5 separate regions of the Homo sapiens genome follow, and regions 1, 2, 3 and 5 are each linked to region 4. Evidence: promoter capture Hi-C in 16 types of primary human blood cells and fetal thymus (Javierre and others, 2016). All regions are on one chromosome and are shown on one strand. The core of a region is centred on a gene start or on the middle of the fragment in contact, and the rest is flanking DNA. Distances in the headings are between cores, read along the strand shown. Region 1 overlaps KCNJ1 (potassium inwardly rectifying channel subfamily J member 1). Region 2 overlaps LOC124902787 (a long non-coding RNA gene). Region 3 overlaps LOC124902787 (a long non-coding RNA gene). Region 4 holds the start of ETS1 (ETS proto-oncogene 1, transcription factor). Region 5 has its middle 7.9 kb from the start of KCNJ5.

The links. Contacts are between HindIII fragments. The CHiCAGO score rates a contact against its expected background, and 5 or more counts as called.
Region 1: a fragment that was not itself captured here is called in contact with the fragment with the promoter of ETS1 in region 4 in 3 of 17 cell types (total B cells, naive CD4 T cells and naive B cells); the score reaches 6.9 in total B cells.
Region 2: a fragment that was not itself captured here is called in contact with the fragment with the promoter of ETS1 in region 4 in 17 of 17 cell types (activated CD4 T cells, total B cells, naive B cells and 14 more); the score reaches 35.2 in activated CD4 T cells.
Region 3: a contact is called between a fragment that was not itself captured here and the fragment with the promoter of ETS1 in region 4, in 15 of 17 cell types (activated CD4 T cells, total B cells, naive B cells and 12 more). The highest score is 21.3, in activated CD4 T cells.
Region 5: a fragment that was not itself captured here is called in contact with the fragment with the promoter of ETS1 in region 4 in 4 of 17 cell types (naive B cells, megakaryocytes, total CD8 T cells and 1 more); the score reaches 7.0 in naive B cells.

Annotation. Positions count from the first base shown.
Region 1 is chr11:128,862,187-128,864,886 of GRCh38, forward strand. All of the region lies in intron 1 of KCNJ1 (potassium inwardly rectifying channel subfamily J member 1), which reads right to left. LOC107984409 (a long non-coding RNA gene) reads left to right here. Exons shown (of 3, transcript XR_001748442.2): 2 at 1,711-1,824. Among named protein-coding and RNA genes, the nearest start is that of KCNJ1, 3.8 kb to the right of the region's middle. The HindIII fragment of the contact is 3,618 bases long and covers 1-2,700 here.
Region 2 is chr11:128,310,708-128,313,407 of GRCh38, forward strand. All of the region lies in intron 1 of LOC124902787 (a long non-coding RNA gene), which reads right to left. Among named protein-coding and RNA genes, the nearest start is that of LINC02098, 100 kb to the left of the region's middle. The HindIII fragment of the contact is 1,865 bases long and covers 380-2,244 here.
Region 3 is chr11:128,328,731-128,331,430 of GRCh38, forward strand. The region is part of intron 1 of LOC124902787 (a long non-coding RNA gene); the gene reads right to left. Among named protein-coding and RNA genes, the nearest start is that of LINC02098, 120 kb to the left of the region's middle. The HindIII fragment of the contact is 7,097 bases long and covers 1-2,700 here.
Region 4 is chr11:128,586,158-128,588,857 of GRCh38, forward strand. It overlaps ETS1 (ETS proto-oncogene 1, transcription factor), which reads right to left and starts at 1,401. Exons shown (of 10, transcript NM_001143820.2): 1 at 1,331-1,401. It overlaps LOC105369565 (a long non-coding RNA gene), which reads left to right. Exons shown (of 5, transcript XR_948163.3): 4 at 183-803. RefSeq lists a silencer at 1,354-1,560. The HindIII fragment of the contact is 9,036 bases long and covers 1-2,700 here.
Region 5 is chr11:128,882,099-128,884,798 of GRCh38, forward strand. No RefSeq gene overlaps it. Among named protein-coding and RNA genes, the nearest start is that of KCNJ5, 7.9 kb to the right of the region's middle. The HindIII fragment of the contact is 3,507 bases long and covers 1-2,700 here.

The DNA.
Region 1 (2,700 bases), core at 200-2,699, 280 kb after region 4:
GCCAAAGGAGCAGGTGTATCAGTAATAAGGGGAAGAAAATCCGAGTGCGGCACGGGGTTTTCTCCACTCTCTGGCAGCCTCCGTCCCCAGCAGACCTCATCCTGTCTCTTCAGTGGTGAGCATTGCCCAGGCTGGGTGTGAATTCTTATGCACAATGGATTCAAGCAGGACTAGGAGTGAGGAGACCCATGTTGGAAAGGACTCTCAGACCTGGTCCTGGGGAGCGCTCTGGGGGTCTCCTGACTCCCCTTCTCCACTCCCTCTGAGGGGATGGAGTATTGGGAGAGGAAACAGCCCTGTGTCCTACCGCCCCCTCCATCCCCCCCGGGGCTGCCCTAGAAGCAGACTGGGTCGGGGAGCCTGGTTGGTAGGTTAGAACGTGCTCATGCTCTGCCAGTTCGCTGATGTGTCATGCAGCCACTCTTGTACCTGCCATCCCTACTCATCCCCTCACGGGGACCAGAGCTTCTGCAGCATAGGGACTGTGTCATCACACTTCACTAAGGCCAGCACAGCGGGGGCTTCCCAGAGGTCTAAGGTGACCTTAGCCCATGCCTGTGGCTTATCTCTGAACCCGATTCAAGCTCCCCATACTCTGTGCATAATTCATCAGCAGTCCAACACTTCCCTTAACAGCATCCAAATACCCTGATCCCCAAAATGGTCACATGCACTTTCCAGCATGAGACCGGGATTACCCTTATCTCTCTGAATATCTCATCACTGGACTCGGACTCCAAGGGGCCACACACTTCACAGAGTCTTCTCCTGTGAAAAGACCCACAACAGTTATTCACAGTTGCTGAGTTCTGCTGAGCTCTTCAAGGACAAATGGTAGATCTGGATAAAGCCAGAAAGCTCCTGAGAATTTAATCAAGGGCAACGAACCATGAGACTTCCCCTACGGGTAGTCACCTGAGAGAACTTGGGCTGTTTTAACTCTGCAAAGACAGTATTAACCTGTTGCTTTCAATTGTGTTGGGTTGCATATTTAAATCTGTTCCCTGGGGATATGGTGACACACTGATAGACCCCAATAAATACAATTCCTGAATCCCAGCCAAGAAACACTGGTGTGTGTGCAACTGGAGCAGAGGGAGGGGCAGGGACATTGGGAAATTCTAAATAAATGGAAAAATCTGGCTTGTATTTCAAGGATTATTCAAAAAGAATCTTCCCTTAGAAGCATCAGTGAGTCACACGCATCTAACCAGAATGCAAAGTTTACAAAGCATGGTAATGGCAGAACACAGCACAGGGCAGATACACACATGCAGAGATGGACTCTGTTGCATACTGGGGAACCAATTTTGAAAAGTAACAACAGGCTTCTTCTGAGAGAGGAAATTATTCATCCAAAACAGTGCTGGGAAAATTCAGATTTACATTTTTCCTAGGGCCTTTGAGTTGCATATTTCTGCAATGAGTGAGCTGGATTTGATGAGGCTTTACAATGATTGTTCAAAATTAGTGTTTCAATGCTCTGGTTTTAAATGGAATGCTTTTGGGTTGGGTTTTATATTTGACAGCTAAGGACCTTAATAACAGTTTTTGAGAAGCAACTCCTTAGGGCAGAACATCTTTGGATCCTCAATAGTTTTGAAGCGACCTGTTCTCTGCACTATTTTTGGTTTCTTTCTGCTATTTTTCTAAAAAGAATCCAGGAGTTTCATGTGTAAGAGCATCGTTCTTTTTTCCGTTTGCTCACAGATTCTGACGAGGCAATGGCAAGAAAGGCTGACACTTTGCACATCCTTCACAATCTTCTGCAAGGATGGCTTAGAATCGTCCTGCGTGGAGGAAGGAACAACCTTTGACCTTAAGGTAACTTAAGGTTTGACCTTAAGGTTTATTACTGACTTTTCTTTTTCTTTTTTCTTTTTCTCTCTTTTTTTTTTTTTTTTTTTTTTTTTTTGAGACAAAGTCTCACCCTATCACCCAGGCTTGAGGAGTGCAGTGGCACGATCTCAGCTCACTGCAACCTCCGCCTCCCGGGTTCAAGCAATTCTCATGCCTCAGCCCCCTGAGAAGCTGGGACTACAGGTGTGTGCCACCATGCCTGGCTAATTTTCAAATTTTTAGACAGATGAGGTTTTTCCATGTTGGCCAGGCTGGTCTTGAAATCTTGACCTCAGATGAGCCTCAGCCACCAAAAGTGCTGGGATTACAGGTGTAAGCCACTGCACCAGGCCTATTGTTGACTTTTCTAGGGGTCTATCTTTTATATGTCTCTACACTAATTTTTTTCTTCAGCATTTTTTGAAGATGTTTGTTTTTGTTGTTTTCTTTTTCCAATTTCTGCACACCCTGCTTGTTCATGATGATTTCTGAACCACATAATCGAGCCAACCACTTTTTGCTATTTCACAGCAGTACTAATACTATTCCTGAACCATATATATTTCAGGAGAAAGAGCAGATTGGGAAAGCCTAGGCCCTTTTCTGTATACTTTTGGCTTGAGCCTAGGTCATCACAGTCTTGAATGTGGGAGGGTGAGTGGAAGGAAAAGGGTCTGTGCCATTCAAAGTGTGCTCTTTTTGCGGACTTTGGGAGTCTCTGGCTCCTGTTTCAGAGCTCCACTTCATCCTCGCCTGTCCCCATCACTCTCTGCAGCTGATTGGCCACCAGACTTTGTGTCTTCTCCCTCTTGGTAATCTCCTCCCTGATTACCCGGCCGTGGTCTTACCCTACTCTAGTCC
Region 2 (2,700 bases), core at 62-2,561, 280 kb before region 4:
TGAAAAGCACTGTGGCCTCACTCCACATCTGATATGTTCGGATATTTTATCCCCTCCATTCGCATGCTGAGATGTGATCCTCATGTTGGAGGTGGGCCTGGTGGGAGGTGTTGGGGTCGTGGAGGTGGATCCCTCATGAATGACTCGGTGCCCCCTCATGGTAATGAGTAAATTCTTGCTCTGTGAGTTCACCCAATATCTGGTTGTTTAAGAAAGCCTGGAACTTCCAGCTCCCTCTCTCTTGCTCACTCTCTCCCTCATGTGACATCCAGGCTCCCCTTAGACTTTTCACCTTGACTATAACATTCCTGAGGCCCTCACCAGAAGCAGATGCTGGCACGATGCTTTGTGTGCATCCTGCAGAACTGTGAGCCAAATAAGCTTATTTTTGTTATAAATTACCCAGCCGCACATATTCCTTTATAGCAATGCAAATGGACTAATGCACCATCCCCAGTGGCCTCCTTCCAATCCACAACCTGCTAGCCAAGCAAGGGTGGTGGAGGCAGATTTGAGGGTGAGCCCTGGGATATGAGGCAACTCTCATGTGTGACTGGCTGTGGCCTTGAAGCAGCTGCAATGATTTTCATCTCCTGGGCAGACTGAGGTTAGGAGTTTAATCTATGCTACGGGGTGAGGTCAGAACACCTTCCCTTGTTTTGATCTCATTGGGCTCCAGCCTCCCTTATAAAGGTCCTATTAAAAGGGGCTATAACTGCCTCTGTCTTGGCCTGCCTACTCTATGGGAATTTTCCTATAATTTTGAAGTATTTCAAATCAAAATTTAATTATTTGGAATGGTTTATTTAAAACCCTTCTGAAGGAAAGAGGAAGGGCTAAATGAGGTCTTTGGCATTCTCCTGTACTGCTACTTTCAGTGGGGCTCTTTCTGCCCAAGGCTCTTTTTCAGTAAATTGCCCTGGTTGGCTAAACCCAGTGGGTTTCTTCCTATCACCATATCCCATATACTCTTACAGGAATTTCAGAAGAATTACTCCTTTTTGTTTCCTGAAATGAGCATTCTATGAGCCTATGTTTTTAAATAAAATAGCCTGGAACCATTTTCATTAAAAGATAGTACAGCAGTACAGTGCAAACATTTAACTTATGAAAACTAACAAGCAGATGAAACAAAAAGAGTTGAGGGCACTCAGTGAGGAATGCTCACTATTGAGGTGTTAGTCGTGAAGCACTGAAGAGAGTTTGAGAGAGTTCAGGGAGGTGTTCTAAGCACATCTGCCCTCAGCATGTACTGTTTGTATAGGATGTGAGGTTCTGGACCAAGTCTCAGCAAGGAGAGAAAAGGAGTGGGGAATGCAATGAGGTCTCTCTCCTCATAGTGCTCAGTCCAGGGGAAACCTAGAAAGGAGTAAGTCAGGGTCACCCTACAACTATTTTTGAGGCCACAGTTGCACAGGGCACCCACTGAACACCATTTCAGTTCAAAAGACACACTTGCTTATGAGCCTCATTGAGGGTAACTCATCTTGTATTCACCAGAGAAAGGGGGAAACCCACTAATCTAGAAGTAAAGGGACCTGTAACACAAGAGCTTCTGTATGACACTGCCAAGGCTCTGTACTGACTTTCAAAAACAAAACAAAAGTAAGAAGTTTATAATGGTAAGAAGAATTGAAACCTGCAAAGCAAGTTTATCAAAATATAAGGTTAAAGTGGGGATTCCAAATTGTCCAATATAATATGACGCTAAGTCAAAATTTCGTTACCACCTTGAAACTTTTCTTCATGAGAATTTTGTTCCATCTGTGTCTCATTAACATGTTCACTTATGTTTACTGTCCTATGAAGTCATTACATAGCCTCTTTTCTGAGGGCTCAGACCTCTAGACAGTCCTTCCTCAAGTTCACCTGAGAGTCACACCTGGCCTGAAACCTTTAAATCTAAGAGAAAAACTCACCTATACATTTCAACAATGTTTACTTAAAAATCCAAGTTATCCAAGGTCATAATTTTCATGGAATATTGCCAGAGGGTCTTTAACTAAATGTCACCTTTTAATTAAGAAGGCAACTGGCAACTATTTCTAAAACTTAGATTGCCGTCTCAACATTCTCTATTTCTCTTTACCTCTCCTTATTTTTTCCTTAGCACTTACCACCATTTAACCTAGATTATATTAAATGTGTCTGGTTTGTTGTCTGTGTCACATAGTAGAATGTTAGTTCCATAAGGGAGTAAATTTTGACTCTTATTTACAACTATAGTCCCAGTATCTAAAACAAAGCTTAGAACACATTAAGAACTTGATAAATATTCATTATCAAATTCTACAGCTCAACTTAGCACCACTAGACCCATTGACTCTGATGCTGATATCTTCTCAACAAAATCATACATGACATAAGAAAAATAAATAGCTTCTTCTCATATGATGGGTTTTCTAGACCAATATTAACCAGTGTCTACATGTGACTGTTGAGCATGGAAATGTGACTAGTCCAAATTGAAATGTGAGTATGAAATACACACTGGATTTCAAAGAATTTGGATAAAAAAAGGATGGAGAATATCTCAGGAATCATTTTATATTGATTGCATATTGAAATGATAGTATTTTAGATATATTGGGTTAAATAAAATATATTATTAAAATACTTTTTACCTGTTTCTTGTTTCTTTTTTAATGATGCTACTAGAAAATTTAAAATTATATACATGGCTTATATTATATTTCTATT
Region 3 (2,700 bases), core at 10-2,509, 260 kb before region 4:
TAACTCACAGCCTGGAGCATAGGAGATACTCAAACTTTATTCCCTTTCCATATATAAAGAGATTAGGCCCATAACATGAAACTGAGAGATAAACATTCTCCCTACAGAATGGAAAGGAAGAAAAGAGCATTGATGAAGCAGCTCGATGAACTCTTGTAAGACCTTTCTCCAAGTGAGTTATCATTCCAAGGTTCCTGTTGTTACTTTCTGAAGGGCTTTGTGCTTATGAAGCAGATAGGGACAGAAGGGCGGGCCGGACCCCATGGTCATCTGGCAGCCTTGCTTGTGTTGGGTCAGCGTGCCAGCATTCATGCCCCTGGGGGTGTGAGCACCCTTTCTGGAATCTTGAAAGGAAATGCAACCTCCCCAAACCCCACTACTCTCTCAAGGAGTCATGGGTGATGAAGATGTTTCCTGCCATTCTCTGCAGGACAGAGAGTTGCTTAACCCTCGTTTCATTATCAGTGGAGGAGCCAGCCATTGGACCCCCACCCCTCAGAGTGAGCCAGCAGCCAGAACTAGCCCTTTGGCATCCCCCGTCTTGATTGCAAGCAAGCAAACCTGTCACCTTCCTGTTTTATCTACTCATGGTGTTTGTTTCCTTTGACGTGGATTCTTACACTTAGGGTGGGAGGGATTTCTCGAAAAACATTTGTTGTATGCCACTGATCCTGGCCCCACAACGCCCCTTTCTCTTTCCTTTTCAAGGCTCCAGGAATTGCTAAATGGCATATCCTGAACACCCAGCACTCTGGGGCTAAAAATACCAGAGGGTGTGTTTATCTAGATTGGGGCTTCCTCTCCAGGGGCTTTACAGACGTTATCTCATTTATCCTTGAAAACACTCTGCGAGGCAGCATGTAGTCAAATAACTTTACCCCAGAAAGGTACGGAAGGCTTGAAGAGGAAAGGTCATCGGTGGAGGTTCTATTCTGAGGCCCAGTAGACAGGCTCAGGTCTTTAATTTCTCAGCTTAAAATTCCATTCACTCTGCATTTCCCCCTTAGAACTGTGGGAATCCTTAAAAAGCAAATACAAACCCACGACTCCTGGCACATAGAAAAAGGCCAGGTTGAAATACCCCCCAGGTTACCTCCTCTCGGTGTCTTCATTACATCTTTACAAATCCGAGATCCCATGGCCTTTGGTCATCTCTTCTAATTGCTCCACATACACAGGCTCCCTCGAGACCTCATTTGCCACCATGGTTTAAACTCTCACCTATCTAAACTGATGGTAGACACTTTCCATATCTCTCACACCCTCTCCATAGTTGATATAAAATAATTACCTACTAGAAGTTGTACATGAATTTGTTACATACACAGCATTTCCCCCTCATTTTGCACATCCTCGATATTCCCTGGCCCATACCCAAAGACCTGAGACTCCTGGCACATTCCATCCCCTCTCTGACTGCCACATGCAAACAGTTACTGAGTTAGCTATCTTCCAGGTGCACCCCCAGATGCACTTTCCCTCCCTCCAAAATGCATGCCTAAGGAGCCTGACTTACAGGCTCCTTCTTTGCCCTCTGGCTACTCCCTGGGGTTGGTCTTTGGTGAGCACTGGCAGGAGAATGGGAGGAGGCAGGAGAGGGATGATGCTGTATGTATTGTCCCATTCTTCTCCCTGTGGGGTTGCCATGGACTGGCTGCATCCTGGATACAAGGTCAGGTCTCATCAGGCATCCTTTTCCACACAGCTGCTTTCCTGGTGGCCATCGGGCCTGGAGGTGGCAAAAGCTGCTGCCTCCTGATGGCATCAATTCCAGGGCACCGCTCAACCCCTGGTGCATGTTTTAAACTCCACCCACACATGCTGTAAATAGCCCTTATATGAAAGTTATTACAACATCCAGCTAGAGTGGGGTCTCCTCTCTTTCTGGATGCTACCCAAACTAAAGTCACCAATTTCTATATTTTACCATTCAATTCAGATGACATTTTACATGTATGTATACATATTTACTTGTTGAATTAGAAAAGCCAAGATGGCATTATATTTTAAGCCAATACATCAGACTTCGATATATGTGTTACTTCCAAACCTCTCTCCCTGTAGTCTCCTCACCATTGTTCAGATTGTCAAAGTGTCATTTCCAAATACCTGTGAAATTACATTAATCTTGCATAAGTTCATCAGAGGTCCCAGTATCTTTCAGCATATGATTCACTTTTACTTATGTCTGTCTTTCTAGAGTAAGTCTTTTATCTCTACTTCCAGGACATCCTCAAATGTTTTTCAAACATTTATCAAATAGACAAACACTGAATGGAACTTTAGGTCTTAAATAAGTGTAGCTATTTCCTTTTACAATATTATTTTCTTTTAAACTGCAATTTCTTGTCCTACTGAATAAGTCCTCCTTACGTGGCTACAGGAATGCAAACACCTGGGTATAATGTGATGACTTTCTAACTTTGCAGAACTGTTATCAATGAGGGCTTAGACTGTGATGTAAAAGTAAGGGCTCTAAACTAGATTCCCTGGATTCCTGATTTCTCTGCTAGTCCCGCAACCTCGGGCAACTTACTCAACATTCTATGCCTCCATTTCCTAACCTATAAAATGAGGGTAGTAATATCATCTAACTCATGGGTTTGCTGCAAGAATTAAAAGAGTTAACACACACACACGGAACACTTAGAATAGTGCCTGGTGAAAACACAGTAGAGTTAACTGTTATTTCTTAACTCA
Region 4 (2,700 bases), core at 151-2,650:
AACTGTTTGTTATTTCACTATTGAGTTGGCAAGGATGGAAGTAGTTGATTTACAATTAGAAGCAGCATGCTTCTTCAAATATTAATATTAATAACTGCACTACTGAACACATGAAAAGACCTTTTCATCTTCAAAGCACTTTGCAGACATTAACCCATTAGCTCTCCCTTCCCTCCATTCAGGAACAACAGGTGAGCAAGACTCTCAACAGCAGCAGTGGCCACCCTGCAGCCCTTGTGCACAGCCCACGGCCCCTGAAGAAAAAGCGTTTTCTCTTTGGATAAAAATAGGCCACCAAACCCAAAACCACAACTGATGAAAGAGTTATAGTATCAGTAATTTTACAAATCAAATGGAGCTGATGGAGTTATCATTTTAGAATTGGTATTTCCTGCTGTTTAACAAATACTTTTTTCTCAGTTGCATGGCAGTGGTCTAAAGTAAGAAGGAAAATGGACTTGAGATTAAAAACAAAAACTTACCCAAAAGGTGATAAAGAAATCCTGCAATAGAATGCATTGATTTCAGTGACCCAGCACCCTTTTAAGTTTGCCTGAAGAAAATACTACTTTAAAAGTTGGTAACAGAGACCTTTAACGGTGGGTGAGGAGTCACATACAAAGTGTCACGGCCAGATAAAATCACCGGATGCAGAGGAATTGCCATCGACATCTCCTGCCACTGAGTCCAGCTCTACCGTGGGGACAAGAAATACCTCCCTAACTCTGAGACAACCGCGGCCCACACCCACACCATGTCTCAACAACAGACTTAGGAACTTGTAGATCTTTGGACAACTGCAGGTCAGTCCCAAGACAGAGAAAAACACCAAACAGGCTAGTTTGGCTAGCAAGATTCAAACCTGTAGCAATTTCCTCTCTATTAAAAGCAATTCATTAAACTACTAGCAGGAGAAAAAAGTAAAACAATAGATTTACTAGGAGTGAAAGAGAATAAAAAGAAATTTATATATTTAACTACAGCTTTATTTCTTTGGAAGTGCTCCAATTTGCAAAAAAAAAAAAAAAAAATCAGGGTTTCTGACAAGTAATCTACGGGTATCTAAAACGTGCATGGTTTTACTTTTGTGAAGCAGGGAACATTTTTAAAAACATAGTCTTGCTTTCAGACTATTCTGACGAGGTTAGGAAGTATTTTTGAAAATTGTTAAACAATTAAATGGGAATATAGAAAGACGTGAAAAGAGAAAGAGAAAACTCACTTGTATCCTGAATCTCCCTACCGACTTACTCTTTAATTCCACAGAAATTTTTTTAAAGCAGGAAAAGGAAAATGGACTGAAAAGTTTTAGGCAGAAACTGACACACACCTCACTTACTACTTTGCCGGAGAGCAGATCCTGAGTGAGCTTCCCTCAAAGTCTGTGGTCTCTTTCCAACTACCTGCGGGAATCCTCTGCTCCGTAGCTTAAGAGGATGCAAAGACCATAATGTTTCTAATAGAGCTGCCTCCTTAAATTGGGGGGTGTGGTCAAGCCAGGGAAAGCTGGAAAAAAGGCAGTCTTCCTCTTGCCCCTGGCACCAGGACAGCAGCCACTGGCACAGGCACAGCAGTCTAGGTGGAAAGCACTGTTGATTGACAGTGGTGGCACCAAATCACACATTATTTCGTATTCTTCAAATTGTGCTTCAGCTGAATATAACTCAGCCTTGGAGAGTAACAGGGAGGGAGATGAGCAAAAGGGAACTAGTTCAGTGGGATAACACTGTATCTCACCTCATCATTTGCTGATGCATTTACTCTCTGCTGAATATGTAAATATTCATGCTTCATGTTCCTTGACTTTCTCAATGGAGCCCCCATTAACCTAGGCAAGGTCTCAGGTGAGGGAAAGGGATTGCTTTAGAAACACAGGACGTCCACCACCCAGTCACCTGCTCAGGCTTCCCGTTTCTCTCTAATAACTTGATATGAAATGTGATATTTTCTAAAGAAAAGAAAATAATTTTGTGGAAGAGAGCTGACTGGATATGGACTTGGGATTTCTGAAAAGTAAAGCTAAAAATCCCCTTTTCATATAAGTCTGGTTTTAGGCAATCTCTAAAATAAGGATACTTTTAGCAGCCCTGACTCATGGTCCGTGGTGCAGGAATAAAAGGGCAGAAGTGTTCATACATTTCTCATTTAGGGAAAATGTAAACAATATGAAAATCTTACATCTGTCCTAAGTGAAAATACACAGCATCTTTTATTCACATATTCAGGACTATGGTAAGAATGTTACAGCATAATCTCATTTCTATGAATGGAGTTATTACAATTTTTTTTGAGAAGTCAGTATTTGGCTGCTTAATCTAAGACTTTTATCCTAAAAGATTCCATCTTCTTTGAGTAGGAGGTGGGAGTTAAGATTTGTCATAGTTGGCTTCTTTCTCTTTTTAATAAAGATACAAACTTAGAAAATCCTTGAAAATCTAATAACTGTCATTTGGAGCCATATCATCATCAGCCTTCATTGTATAAAGCTGGCAATGCAGTTAAGATGACATTGTAAGTAAAGCAAGATTTTACTGCTCATCTTCTGCCTTTGCACATTAACTTGGAAGTAAGGAAGAGGTAATGCTATTGGTTCACTTTAGTTTAATAAATTGCCTGTGCCAGGCACTGTTCTAGGCACTAGAAAGATAGCAAGTTTGCATTGTAGTGAGGAGACAGACACATAAATCAACGATCTCCCCC
Region 5 (2,700 bases), core at 175-2,674, 300 kb after region 4:
ATTCTACACTTGTGCAAGAAAAAAAACAAACCAAGAACCAGTGCAATTGACACTTCAGACTCCCAAAAGGTTTAGATGTCTATGACCCTATCTACCCCTGGAAGTGGGGGGTGAAGGAAGCAGCCAAAAGAAGGGGGAGATGGGTTGAGAGTCCATTCAGGAAGCACCCTAGTTAGACCTCCTGTTCCCCTCCCGGACTCTGCCCAAAAAAGAGACTTCTCCCAGCCCTTCCTGGCAGAAGCCTGGAGATTTGTTCTCTCAAAAGTGGAAAACAAAGGGTCTCTTGACTGAAAAACACACAGAACCATTAAGGATGGGCTTATCAGACCCCCTCAAAGGATGACTAAGTAAACATATCCATACTAGATGTCAAGACTCCCAGCTCTCTCCTTCAACTTGGTTTCAGAAGGCTGGTGGTCAGGACTCAGTCCTCCAAGCAGGAGATTGAAAGAGCTCTTCCTGAGGAATCTGACTTTCCCGCAAGCAAAATCTGATACCAAGTGTTCCTGTAACAAAATGGCCTGCCAGAACACCCTACAGGGAACCCGACAGATGTCAAGTTCACAGGCCCAGAGCCTCCTCTTGCCCGGTTACCAGGCATCTGAGGAAAGACAGAGCAAAAACACAAGCATGAAAAGGCATCTTGGAGGAAACAGGGTCTGTACAGGGAGAAGAACGCTTCAAATAAAGAGGATGCTCCAAAAATCCTTCAGGGAATAGAAAAAAGGGGAGCCCTCGGAAATTAAAATATGATAGAAAAATAAAAATCTCAATGGAAGGGTTGAAAGAAAAAAGTTGAGGAGATCTACTAGAACATACTGCAAAAATACAAAGAGACGAAAGTAGAGAAAAAAGATGAGGAAATGAGAGGCTTCTGAGATCTGACACCTAAGTGAGAGGAATTCCAGGAGAAAACAGAGAAAATAGGAAGGAGGAAATCCTCAAAGAGGCATCGCAAGAAACTCACCCAGAAGGAAAGGCGATGATTAAAAGGGCTACCCAGTGTTCCGTACAGTGGATGAAAACAGTCCCACACCAAGGCACATCGTTGTGAAATTTCACACCACTACTCACTAAGAGAAGATCTGGCTAGTTTCCAGAAAGGAAAAAGAGGACCCGCAAAAGGATCAGGAATGAAACTTGCTTCGGGCTTCTAACAATATAATTGAAATGTGGAAGAAGAAGAAATCCCTCTAACATACCGAAGAAAAATAATTTCCCATTTAGAATTCTACACCTGCCCAAGTTGTCAATTGAATAGAATAGAGATATTCTCAGATATGCAGAATCTCAAAATTGTACCTTGCCCACTCTCTTTCCTAGGAAGCAATGGTAGGACGTGTTCTTCCTAAAAAGTAAGAGAGTGAACCAAGAAAGAAACACGCATGGGATTCAGGAAACAGGGGATGCAATATGGGAGTGAGGCAAAGCAAACAGAGATGCCAGGAAGCCAGCTGTGCGCTAGGCAGAGAGGGCAACCAGGCCAGACCAAAGGGAGCAGAAGGCACCAGGGAGATTTCTCCAGATGGAATCAGTAGGACTTCTGGTGCATCTGGACATCTTGAGAGGAGATTGAAATGGTAGGTGGAAATTTTTGCATTGAAATTGGTGATGAGGCCAGGCATGGTGGCTCATGCCTGTAATCTCAGCACTTTGGGAAGCTGAAGAAGGCAAATCACTTGAGGTCAGGAGTTTGAGACCAGCCTGGCCAACATGAGGAAACCCTGTCTCTATCCAAAATACAAAAATTAACCAGGCATGGTGGCGCGTAACGCACACCTGTAATCTCAGCTATTCAGGAAGCTGAGACAGGAGAATTGCTTGAATCCAAGAGGCAGAGGTTGCAGTGAGCCAAGATCGCACCATCGCACTCCAGCCTGGGTGACAGAGCGAGACTCCATCCCCCCAAAAAAGAAAAAAGAAATTGGCGATGAGAGCAAACACAACTACACAAACCAAACCAAGACAATTAATTAGTCCCTCCAGAGAAGAAAAAGAGTTGTGCAGGAAAGACAAAGCAATCTGGTTTGCTGCATGGATCAGCTACATACAAACAGAACTTTATAGACATAAAAATATTAAAACTGAGTATTCATCCAACCAAAATTGTGACACAGCTCCCTTGCTGGACGAGAAATGGGAAGTATGTGAGCACGTGGTGGGTTCAGGGGAGGAAAGGGAGCCACGTTTCCATCTTCAGTGGTAGAAAGTTCATAGGTCGTCTCTGAAGATGGAAGCATCTATAAGTATTACTAGAAGGGTGTCATTTACAGACAAAAACCAAAGGGAAAAAATAGCCAAAAGAAATGAAAGTGATGACCTCTGCAGATTGGAAGATGGTCAAAGAGGAAACCCAACTGCTTTTGTTTCAAATTATTTAGAAAAATGTGATGCTTCAAATATATTACTTTCATATATCACTTTTTTTTTTTTGACACGGAGTCTCGCTCTGTCACCCAGGCTGGAGTGCAGTGGCACGATCTCGGCTCACTGCAACCTCCACCTCCCGGGTTCAAGCGATTCTCCTGCCTCAGCCTCCCGAGTAGCTGGGACTACAGGCATGTGCCACTACGCCCAGCTATTTTGTGTATTTTTAGTAGAGACGGGGTTGGTTGGCCAGGATGGTCTCGATCTCTTGACCTCGTGATCCGCCCGCCTCGACCTCCCAAAGTGCTGGGATTACAGGAGTGAGCCACCGTG